2 separate regions of the Homo sapiens genome follow, and region 1 is linked to region 2. Evidence: promoter capture Hi-C in 16 types of primary human blood cells and fetal thymus (Javierre and others, 2016). All regions are on one chromosome and are shown on one strand. The core of a region is centred on a gene start or on the middle of the fragment in contact, and the rest is flanking DNA. Distances in the headings are between cores, read along the strand shown. Region 1 has its middle 29 kb from the start of OR6Y1. Region 2 holds the start of KIRREL1 (kirre like nephrin family adhesion molecule 1).

Evidence for each region. Contacts are between HindIII fragments. The CHiCAGO score rates a contact against its expected background, and 5 or more counts as called.
Region 1: a fragment that was not itself captured here is called in contact with the fragment with the promoter of KIRREL1 in region 2 in 1 of 17 cell types (total B cells); the score reaches 5.1 in total B cells.

Annotation. Positions count from the first base shown.
Region 1 is chr1:158,522,484-158,528,984 of GRCh38, forward strand. It overlaps the pseudogene HSP90AA3P. Among named protein-coding and RNA genes, the nearest start is that of OR6Y1, 29 kb to the right of the region's middle. The HindIII fragment of the contact is 2,059 bases long and covers 3,899-5,957 here.
Region 2 is chr1:157,988,776-157,994,937 of GRCh38, forward strand. It overlaps KIRREL1 (kirre like nephrin family adhesion molecule 1), which reads left to right and starts at 4,870. Exons shown (of 15, transcript NM_018240.7): 1 at 4,870-4,953. The coding sequence starts at 4,902. The HindIII fragment of the contact is 5,747 bases long and covers 1,033-6,162 here.

The DNA of each region.
Region 1 (6,501 bases), core at 3,678-6,177, 530 kb after region 2:
GAAATGAAGCAGAAATAAAGACATACTCAGACAAAGGTAACACAGGAATGGAAAACCAAACATTGCATGTTCTCACTCATAAGTAGGAGTTGAACAATGAGGATACATGGACACAGGGAGGGGAACAACACACACCACGGCCCGTGTGGGGTTGGGGGGCAAGGGGAGGGAGGGAGAGCATTAGGACAAATAGCTAATGCATGCAGGGCTTAAAATTTAGATGACGGGTTGGTAGGTGCAGCAAACCACCATGGCACACATATACTTATGTAACAAACCTACACATTCTGCACTTGTATCCCGGAACTTAAAGTAAAATGTAAAAAAAAAAAAAAAAAAAAAAAAAAATACTAGAGTTCTTCAAGTTGTAACAAAAAGATGTTAAAGCCAGGTGCCGTGGCTCATGCCTGTAATCCCATCACTTAGGGAAGCCAAGGTGGGAGGATCATTTGACCTCAGGAGTGTAAGACCAGCCTGTGTAACATAGCGACATCACATCTCTAAAATAAAGAAATAGATAACATGAAACATTTTTAAGAAGTTAATAGTTAAAAAAGCCACTAGTAAAAGTAAATAGTCAAATCTGGAATAATCTAATACTGTAATGGCACTGTGTAAATCATTTTAAATTCTATTATAAAAGCTTAAAACACAGAAATATTGAAAATAACTATATCTATTCTAATTTGGCAATGAATACACAATCTAGAAAGATGTGAAGTGTGACATGAATAACATAAAATGTGGGCAGAGTGAAGTAAAAGTGTAGAGTTTTTGTATGCAATTTCAGTTGTTAGCAGCTTAAATTAGAATGTTATAATTATAAGATGTTTTATATAAGCCCCATGATAACCAAGTAGAAAAACAACTCTAGTTGATACATAAAAAACAAAGACATGAATCAAAGTGTGCACCTATCAAAATTCAACAAATTATAAAGAAAGATAGGAAGATTGGAAAAAAGAAATAAAAGAACTACAAAGCAGTCAGCAAAAATCAAAATGCCGGTAGTAAATCCTTTACCTATCAATAATTACTTTAAATGTAAATGAATTACATTTTCCAGTCAAAAGATACAGAGTGGCTGAATGGATTTTAAGAAAAATAAATAAATAAAAAATAAAAGCCGAGGTGCTTCAGCATCCTGGTACTGATGTGCTGTGGAGCCCTTGTGGTCCCTTAGCCAAGATGCCTGAGGAAACCGAGACCCAAGACAAATCGATGGAGGAGGAGGAGGTTGAGACATTCACCTTTCAGGCAGAAATTGCCCAGTTGATGTCACTGATCATCAATACTTTCTACTCGAAGAAAGAGATCTTTCTGAGAGAACTAATTTCAAATTCATCAGATGCATTGGACAAAATCTGATATGAAAGGTTGATGGATTCCAGTAAATTAGACTCTGGGAAAGGGCTGCATATTAACCTTGTACCAAACAAACAAAATCAAACCCTCACTATTGTGGACACTAGAATTGGAATGACCAAGACTGACTTGATCAATAACCTCGGTACTGTCACCAAGTCTGGGACCAAAGCATTCATGGAAGCTTTGCAGGCTGATGCAGATATCTCTATGATTGGCCATTTCGGGGTTGGTTTTTATTCTGCTTATTTGGTTGCCAAGAAAGTAACTGTGATCAGCAAACATAACAATGATGAGCAGTACACCTGGGAGTCCTCAGCAGGGGGATCATTCACAGTGAGGACAGACGAGTGAACCTATGGGTCGTGGAACAAAGGTTATCCTACACCTGAAGGAAGACCAAATGAGTACTTGGAGGAATGAAGAATAAAAACATTTTTGAAGAAACATTCTCAGTTTATTGGATATCCCATTACTCTTTTTGTGGAGAAGGAACATGATAAAGAAGTCAGAGATGATGAAGCTGAAGAAAAGGAAGATAAAGAAGAAGAAAATGAAAAAGAAGAGAAAGAGTCCGAAGACAAACCTGAAATTGAAGATGTTGGTTCTGATGAAGAAGAAGAAGAAAAGAAGGATGGTGACAAAAAGAATAAGAAGATTAAGGAAAAGTACATCGATCAAGAAAAACTCAACAAAACAAAGCCCATCTGGACCAGAAATCCTGATGATATTACTAATGAGGAGTAAGAATTCTACAAGAGCTTGACCAATGACTGGGAAGATCATTGGCAGTGAAGCATTTTTCAGTTGAAGGACACTTGGAATTCAGAGCCCTTCTATTTGTCCCACAACATGCTCCTTTTGACTTGTTTGGAAAGAGAGAGAAAAAGAACATCAAATTGTATGTACACAGAGTTTCCATCACGGATAACTGTGAGGAGCTAATCCCTGCGTATCTGAACTTCATTGGAAAGGTGGTGGACTCAGAGGATCTCCGTCTAAATATTTCCCATGAGATGTTGTGACAAAGCAAAATTTTGGAAGTTATCAGGAAAAATTTGGTCAAAAAATGCTTAGAACTCTTTACCAAACTGGCAGAAGATAAAGAGAACTACAAGAAATTCTATGAGCAGTTCTCTAAAAGCGTAAAGCTTGAAATATATGAAGACTCTCAACATTGGAAGAAGTTTTCAGAGCTGTTAAGATACTACACATCTGCTTCTGGTGATGAGATGGTTTCTCTCAAGGACTACTGCACCAGAATGAAGGAAAACTAGAAACATATCTATTACATCACAGGTGAGACCAAGGACCAGGTAGCTAAATTTGTGGAATGTCTTCGGAAACATGGCTTAGAAGTGAACTATATGATCAAGCCAATTGATGAGTACTGTGTCCAACACTGAAGGAATTTGAGGGGAAGACTTTAGTGTCAGTCACCAAAGAGGGCTTGGAACTTCCAGAGGATGAAGAAGAAAAAAAGAAACAGGAAGAGAAAAAAACAAAGTTTGAGAACATCTGCAAAATCATGAAAGACATATTGGAGAAAAAAGTTGAAAAGGTGGTTGTGCCAAACTGATTGGTGAAGTCTCCATGCTATATTGTCACGAGCATATATGGCTGGACAGCAAACATGGAAAGAATCATGAAAGCTCAAGTCCTAAGAGACAACTCAACAATGGGTTACATGGCAGCAAAGAAACACCTGGAGATAAACCCTGACCATTCCATTATTGAGACCTTAAGGCAAAAGGCAGAGGCAGATAAGTACAAGTCTGTGCAGGATCTGGTCGTCTTGCTTTACAAAACTGCTCTTTTGTCTTCCGGCTTTGGTCTGGAAGATCCCCAGACACATGCTAACAGGATCTACAGGATGATCAAACTTGGTGTGGGTATTGATGAAAATGACCCTACTGCTGATGATACTGCTGAAGAAATGTCACCCCTTGAAGGAGACAACGACACATCATGCATGGAAGAAACAGACTAAGCTCCAGCTGAGGGAAATATATTTTCAAGGATATTTTTCTTTATTTTTTGTTAACATTAAAAAGTCTGTATGGCATGACAACAACTACTTTAAGGGGAAGATAAGATTTCTTTCTACTTCTAAGTGATGCTGTGATACCTTAAGCACTAAAGCAGAGCTAGTAATTTTTTTCTTAGTTTCACATTGGCTTATTTTAACAGATCGAAGTAATGTGTGTTGCAGGATGTGTGAAACATGATGTTTACTTTGTGGTCTAAAGTGTTTAGCTATCAATCCATATTCCTTAGTAGGCCAAATCTTGTTATCCAAGTGTTCCTGAGCTATATCTTGATGTTTAGAAGAAAAGTATTTGTTACATTTTGTAGCATCTACTTTTGAACTTTTCATCCCCTGTAGTTGCCAGTTCTGTATGAACTAGTCCTCTAGAAATAGGTTAAACTGAAGCAACTTGATGGAAGGAAATCTCCACAGAGAGTTCTTGTTCTCCAAAGAAAAGTATTGTTTGGAGGAGCAAAGTTATAAGCCTACCTAAGCCTATCACAAAGCTTTTCAAAAAATAACTCAGAGCCAGTCTTGTGGATGGAAATGTAGTGCCCGAGTCACATTTTGCTTAAAGTTGTAACAAATACAGAAGAGTGAAAAAAAAAAAAAAAGCCAAGATCTAACAATATGCTGCCTACAAAAGACTCTTTTTAGCCTTAGGAACACATGTTAAAAGTGAAGGGATAGAGCAAGATATTTCATGCAAATGTAAACCAAAAAAAATCAGGGAAAGTTATACTTCCATCAGACAAAATAGACTTTCAATCAAAATCTGTCATAAGAGACAAAGAAAGTCACTGTACAATGATAAAGGGATGATGTCATCTTGAGGATATAAGAACTGTAAAGATAGATGCATTCAACATGGGAACACCTAAACATATATAAAGCAAGTAGTAACAGAACTGTAGGGAGAAATAAACAGCAATATAATAATGAGACTTCACTATCCTACTTTTAAAAATGGACAGATCATTCAGAGAGTGAATCAATGTGGAAACAGGAGACTTCAGTAACACCATTGGTCAAATGGACTAATAAACATATACAGAACATTTCGCCCAACAGAAGTTTAATACAAAATTTTCTCAAGTGCACATGGAACATTCTCCAGAATAGATCATGTTAGGTCACAAAACAAATCTTATCAAATTGAAGAGGACTAAAATCATCTCAAGTATCTTTTCTGGCTACAATGATATAAATATAGAAATCAATAACAGGAAGAAATTTAGAAAATTACAAATAGGTGGAAATTAAACAACACACTCATAAGATACCAACAGGTCAGAGAAAAAATCAAAGGGAAAATCAAATGTACATGGAAATAAACAAAAATTGAAACACTACAGCTTTGCCCAGATGTGTCTCCTCATCCCCATGGAACAGGAAGCTAGGGAACCTGGAATGCCCATCCAGGCCATCATCTGAAATAACAGAGAACACTTGAGAGTAAACAAAGATCAAATACATAGCCATCTGCTTATGTTACGGCTGGCTCTTACCCTTAAGCCCCATCTACTGCTCCACAGGTCAAATTGCACTGCCTAATATAAAAACTGCTAAAAGAAGTGAAAAGGGGTATAGAAACAAAGCCAAAAGACCCTACTCAACATACTCTACAGTTGCACCACTTAGAGAGAAGGGGAAAGGAAAAAAATATATAAGGAAAGAAAAAAAAATCCTATCCACACAAAAATAATTACAAAAATTAGAAGTGCCATCCTCTCCAGATGAAAGGGACCAGTATAAGGATTCTGGCACCATAAGAAATCTGAATCTTGTGACATCACCAAAGAATTACACTAGCTCTCCAGCAAGGACTCATAACCAAAATGGGAGCTCAGAAATGACAGGCAAAGAATTCAAAGCATGAATTGCAAGAAGGCTCAATGAAGTCCGAGGCAATGTTGAAAATCAACACAAGGAAACTACTAAAGCAGTCCAAGAAATGAAAGAAGACATAAACATGTTAAAAAGAAATTAATCAGAGATCCTGGAATTAAAAACTCACTTAAGAAATTTCAAGATACAATTGAAAGTTTTATCAATAGATTAAACCAGGCAGAAAAAAAAAAAAGAATTTCAGCCTTTTAAACTAGCTCAGGCAGACCACACACAGAGAAAGAGAGAGAGAATAAAAGAAAAGAAAATCAACAAAGTCCTTGAAAAATATGCGATTATGTAAAGTGACCAAACCTATGGGTTACTGGCATTCCTGAGAGAGAAGCAGTAGAAGTGAAAAACTTGAAAAACATATTTGAGGGAATAATTCAAGAAAAATTTTCCAATCCTGCCAGAGTAGTAGACACCTGAGAAAGACTTTACACAATATATATCACCAAGGAACCGAGTTACCAGACTAAGCAAGGTCAACACCAAAGAAAAAAATCTTAAAGGCAATTAAAGAAGATGGTCAGATAACTTACAAAGGGATTCCCATCAGACTAACAGCAGACTTCTCAGCAGAAACCTTAAAAACCAAAAGAGATTGGCGACCTATTTTCAGTATTCTTAAAGAAATGAAATTCCAACCAATGTTTCATATCCTGATGAACTAAGCTTTATAAGTGAAGAAGAAATAAAATTTTAGTGACAACCAATCACTAAAGGAATTTCTTACCAGTAGACCAGGCTTACAAGAGATCCTTAATGGAGTTACAAACATGGAAACAAAAGAATGATACTGGCTACCATAAAAACACACGTAAGTAGCCCACAGACCTAATAAAGTAATTGTACACAATTAAGACTATAAAGCAGCCAACTGGAAACTTCATGACCATCAGGATCAAAACCTTGAATTTAAATGGTCTAAATATCCCACTTAAAAGGTACAGAGGGACAAGTTAGAGAAAACACAAAACCGATCTATCTGCTGTCTTCAAGAGACCCATCACTCATGTCATGGCACCCACAGTCTCATAGTAAAGGGTTGGGGAAAGACTTATCACACAGAGAGAAAATAAACAAACAAGAAAGAACAAGGGTCACTATTCTCACATCAGATAAAACAGACTTTAAACCAACAACAGTAAAAAAGGACAAAGAAGTATATTCTGTAATGATAAAGGATTCCATTAAACATGAAGACTTAACTACGC
Region 2 (6,162 bases), core at 3,620-6,119:
AGCCCCCTTTGCTGGGAGGACTTTGGAAGAAGGGGTACATCTCTCACTCTCACTGCTCTGGGCTATAGTCTGCAGCAGGGGAAGAGACAAGGTGACCTCTGGTGATCCCTTGCCCTTGGGGACTCAAGGTTTCCTTTAAGGTCAGGATTATTTTCCAAGCTGAGAATAAGGATCTCACCCTTTCTCTCCTCTGTCTCTGGTAAGCAGCAGGGACACAATACTCCACCTCTCTAGGGGGGAAAAGGACAATTTATAGAATTGTTCTGCTGTTCTTAGCCCTCATTGAGACAAAGAATTCATTTCTGTCTCTCAAGGTGGCTTCTCCTGCTTATGGTCATAAATTGCCTTCCTGCTCACTCCCTGACCTCTTGATCTTTTTGCTTTTGTGCTAAAAAAAATTATTAATATTTCTCTTAACTCCATATATAACCTTTGGCTGTTTCTCTCCTTTATTCTAGGTGAAGTAGCATCCTTAGGGATTACTTCCTCCGCCTTCGCGCCTGCCTGCTTCTGTTGGGGCAGGGCTCTGTGCATGAGGATGAAGACAAATCTACAGGAGGAAGATTCAAAAGATCTCTGTTTGGGGAAGCTCTAAAACTGAAAAATAATCACAGCTAACATTTACTGAGCATATGCTGCATGCCTAGTATTGTTCTAAGGGCTGTATGGATATGAACTCAATCCTCACAACTACCCCATAATGTAACTACTATTATTATCCCTGTTTTCATATGAAAAAAACAAGAACTAGAGAGGTTAGCTACATAAAATGTCCAAGGTCACACAGAAAGGAAGGGAAAGAACCTAGATTTGAATCCCTGTCTGGTTTCAGGGCCCATGTGCTTTGCTGTCAACTACTCTGCAAGGTACCTCTCTGATAGGGAGGGACTTACCCAGCTTTCGCTCTACCCTCAGGGAGCTCCAGAATGGTGTGACATGCATATTCCTTGCCCCTCAAGAATCCCCAAGTTTGATAGGGGAGGCAGATATCCTGTCCTAGGAAGATATGTCCAGTCTGATGGAAAAGACACAAGCTTTATCTTTGGATCATCTGACTAATACTAGGGACTCAGCCCCAGGATGTCTACAGTTTGATGAGTTATGTTATTAGATTCTAAGAGACTCAGTTAATTCGACTAGACAAAATTGTGAGCCTTAGTGTTAAAGAGACGAGGATGGAGCAAAGTTAGGGCAGCTTAATTGGGGTTGCCCCAGGAGGGGAGGGTGATACAAGATTGGCAATAAGCAGAAGAAATGCTAGTGGAGATAAGAGGGCAGGACACTTGTGTGGTGTGCAGACTTGCTGAAGACAATGTCTGGAAAGCAGGGGTTTGCTTAGTTTAGCAGCTCTCTACCTTGGCTGTCTACTAGAATCACCTGGAGCTATGTCTAAAAATACTGATGCTTGAACTTCACCCCAGAACAATTAATCTTTAGGGATGAGGGCATGGCACTGGTGTTTTTAAACAGCCCTCAGGGCAGGGCATGGTGGCTCATGCCTGTAACCACAGCACTTTGGGAGGCTGAGGCGGGTGGATCACCTGAGATCAGGAGTTCGAGACCAGCTTGGCCAACATGGCGAAATGCTGTCTCTACTAAAAATACAAAAACTACCCAGGCATGGTGGCACACACCTGTAATCCCAGCTACTTGGGAGGCTGTGGCAGGAGAATCACTTGAACCCGGGAGGCGGAGGTTACAGTGAGCTGAGATCATGCCACGGCACTCCAGCCCAGGTGACAGATCTAAACTCCATCTCAAAAAATTAAAAAATAATAATAATAAAATTAAAGGCCCTCAGGAGGTGCTATGCACAACTGGTGTTGAGGACCACTGGCTGGGGATGAGGTCTATGGTGTCTTAAGCTCTGAGATCTGGGATGCTGGATGACTTATGTGGAAGAAATTCTAGAGACATGAGTTTGCTATGAACTGAGCTGGTGAAGATTTGGAATTAAAGGAAAGGGGGAGGGAAAAGAAAAGCTAAAGGACCAGAGGAGACAGGCCAGATTGTTGTTTTCGCTGTTAGTGAGCTAGAGAAACTTGGTTCCTCTGTTTCTAGGCTTTTGAGGCAAAATAAAAGGCCCACAAAAATCCAAAAGGTCTGATAACCCAGTCCCTTCTCATAAAAAGAATAGCTATCAAGCCTGATATCAGACATGGAGATTAGGCAGGAAACACTGAGCTAAGAATATTCCCTTCCTTCGATTAAAGACCTTTTTTTTTAAATTAATGCTCTCCTAGGCCGAGTGTGGTGGCTCACACCTGTAACCCCAGTACTTTGGGAGGCCGAGGCAGGCAAATCACTTGAGGTCAGCAGTTCAAGACCAGCCTGGCCAACATGGTGAAACCCCATCTCTACTAAAAATACAGAAATTAGCTGGGCATGGTGGCGGGTGCCTGTAATCCCAGCTACTCAAGAGGCTGAGGCAGGAGAATCGCTTGAACCCAGGAGATGGAGGTTGCAGTGAGCCAAGATCATGCCACTACACTCCAGCCTGGGTGACAGAGTGCAACTCCTTCAAAAAAAAAAAAGAAAGAAAAGAAAAGAAAAGAAAACACACACACACCAAAAATAATACTTTCCTAAGTCAGGGTCACCCTCGCCTTCCCCTCCATACACCATCATGTGGAGTGGAAAGGAGAAAAGGCTGTCTCGCTGACATGTCCGGAGCTCCCTACCTCAGGGTTTTTGCCTTTGCTGCTACCATCTTCCTGCTGCATTCTTCCCTCAGACGCCTGAGCAGCTAAACCCTCAGTTCCTTCAGGTCTGTGCCCAAATGTGGCTGTAGCAGAACAGCTTTCTTTGATTACCTGTAAGAACAGTAATTCCTCCCTCTCTCCCTCTCCCTAATCTTTTATCCTGCTTTATTTGTCCCCCATAGCATTTACCATAACCTAGTATATTTCATATTTTTTTCTACTGCCTCTGACTTTCCTCCAGAATGGAACATTAAAGGGAAAGACTTTGTCCTTTTTTTTTTATTATTATTGTCTCCCCAAAGCCTAGAATGGTGACTGGAAAATAGCAGTCTGGAGCTGAAAAAATATCTGTGGAATGTATGATTAATGAATGAACAAATGAAAAGCCTTATGTGTCTGTGTGTTGGTGTCTTTCTGTGTACGTTTGGGATTGCAGTCCTATTTCTCTGGCCAAAGTATGGCTCTATTCTTAAGCTGTGCTTGCCTGTGTTTTGGAATATATGAAGAATTCTCTGGGTCTGTGCATATGGGGCTTCTGCATATGAGCTTGGGTGTTTTCCTGCCTTTCTCTGTCTTCTAATTGTGTGTGGATGCGTCTGGACCACAGGCTGGTGTTAGTATCTGCGGAGGAAAGAGGAGCTGTGGCCGCTACACATCAACAGAGGGCACCAGAGAGCCACGCACCTACTTTCAGGGGCAGAAATTGAGAAAACTTGGCGGGGAGTGTTAGAGACCCAGGAGATCTGGGATCTGGGAGGAAAGAAGTGGAGACCTCTTTGGACCAACACATTACTGTAAAATTGTGCAATTCCAGCAACTTCTCTGTCCATTCCCTAGGGTCCAGACCTCTGGCTACCCGAGCAATCCTGTGAGCAGAAGTATCTGGTCAGGGGTGAGAAGAGGAGCTGGTTGCCAAACTGGGCCCTTAAGAAAGTGGAGATCCCTCCTGAATGCTCTCATGATTCTCAGGAATTCCCTTCCTTCCTAGTTCCTCCATGTCCCTACCCCAAAAGATCTCAAACTCCAGCGTGCTTAGAGATCTGACTGGTGGCTGTCTTCTCCTCTGGCTTGCATTCAGGGAGGTGAGGCCAGGTCTTGGCCCTTCAAAGCCATCCAGTTGGCTACCTTCTCCTTCGGGATGGGTGGAAGGCTAAGATGAACAAAGGAAGGGTCAACTGTGCCTCTTCCAGGCCGCTGAGTCCTCCAACGCCTAGCTGTGCTCAACCTTGACTGGGTGAAGCCAAGGCAGGGCCTCAAGGCAGGTCCAAGAGGCAGCTCCCATTCTCCAGTTCTGGGTTTTATAGGTGGGGAGAGGCATGTATGCCCCTCCCTTATCCAAGCATTCATTAGTCAATTGAGAATTCTTAATTTGGGGAATCTAGGGGCTAGACTTTGGGTGTGGAATTTAAAAAGAAAGGTCTTTATGTTTATTTAACTCCCTGCCCCCCACCCCACTCCTAGACACACACACGGAAACACACACACACACACACACACACACACACTCCCCATCACATCCTCTGAGCTAGAGGCTGATGTCCCTCAGCCCATGTTCCTCCTCCACTGCTTAGTTCCATAGCCCGCGACCAAGATTGCGTCTATAAATAGGAGGGGGTGGGGTGGCCAGGGGTCCCGTCGTGCCTGCCCCAGAACCCACGACGGTCACATTTTTCACCCCCTTTTGCCTTTGCCCTCAATTCCTTTCCCTCTTTGCTCTCCTTCCATCTCAGTTCCAGCGAGGGGGGTATGTGTGTGCGCGCGTTGTGGGGGGGCAGGGGGAGGGCTCGTGGAGGGAGGCGCCGTCGGAGGGAGAGTAGACGTCAGGCGGAGGGAGGGAGGCAGGCAGGCAGGGAGGCAGGGAGGGAGAGAGGGAAGGAAGAGAAGGGGAGAGAAAGGGGGAGCAAAGACCGAAAGAGACCCAGAGAGATACAGCTTGAGAGGAGAAATAATTAAAGGGGGAGGGCGACCAGGAGGAGAAAAAGGTCTGGGAGGAAAGAGAGATAAAGAGAATCGGAGGGCAGGGAAATGAGTTTGTGCGCGTGAGTGTGCGCGCGCGCGTGTGTGTGTGCAGGGGCGGGCGCGGGCGGGCGGGGGGCGGGCTCCCGGGCTCCCGGGCTCCCCTCCTCCCCAGCCCGCTCCTCTGGCTCGCTCGCCAACTCCGGGCCCCAGCCGCGGGCGGGCGCACGGCGGGCGGACAGCATGCTGAGCCTCCTCGTCTGGATCCTCACTCTCTCCGATACTTTCTCCCAAGGTAAGGGCCCCCAGCCCACCCCCGGACGCTCGGCTTCCCCCCGGGGCCGGGGCACTGCTTCCCCGGTGGGAGAGTGCTGGAGTGCCCCGCGGCCCGCGGCCAGTCCCCGGGTCCGGACGCCACGAGGCGGGGGCTCGGTCCGGGCGCAGAGCCCTGGGGGAGGGGGCGCGGAGTAACGAGGGGCTGGGGAGAATGAGTTTGCCGTTGATTTGCCCAAGTTGTTTCCTCTGGCTGCGCGGGAGAACCGAGCAATGGGGCCGCGAGGGCTGGAGGTCCGAGTAAAACGGGGAACCGAACGCTTTCTCTTGAGCTTCTGGCAGCCCTACCGACCCTCGCCCTCTGAGGCCGGGGTTCCGGACGCCTGAGTCCAGCCTAAGGGCAAGGCTGGGAAGAGGGTGGGATTTCGGATTTCGGGCGAGGGGGTGAGCGAAAAGCTGGGTCCCACCTCCCGAAGATGTTGCCAAGGGGATCCCCCTACTCCAGCCCAGCCCCTCGGGGGTCTGAGTCTGAATCACGGCTCCAGCCTGCCTGGGGCTGCCCCCTCTAGAGGAAGGGAGGGGTGTCTCGGCGCCTCTAGTGGGGATTTGGAACCCCTGCCCACGGAGGCTCTGGGTGGAGAGTGGAGTTCCACATACAGCTTCAGGCCCGCTTGATACAGAGGGGGGGAACTCACGGGGGCGGGGGCAGAGGCGGTGGGGGGAGGGGGCTGACACTCTACTTGGGCTCAGGAAAGTGTTGCTGTCTGGGGCTTATTTGACACTGGCAGGGGAGAGGCTGGGAGGTGAGGGAGGTGGTTGGGAGAGATGAGGATGTCAGTGTATCCTGGGCAGGGCTGGGGTTGGGGGAGGGAAGAGGGCTGAGGGAACCAAGGGTCCAGACTGCAGCAGGGACTGGGGTCTGTGGGAGTTGGTTCTTGCCTCCCAGGTCTGACTCTAAGGAAGACTGAATCCTGCTGAACTCCTTCCCTCCCCAAAAATGGAGCTGACACACAGAAATTGACACACAAACACCGTAAAACACTCACAGACACTGAGACAGACTACTCACCTACTGAGAGAGAGACATCCCCACAAACATCCCCCACACTGAGACAGACACATATACACAAAGACACGGAGACATCTGAGGAAGACAGATTCCTCCCCCAGATCGGCACACACTCACGCATTCATCCACCCGAACGTTACAACTATACACAGTACATGTATG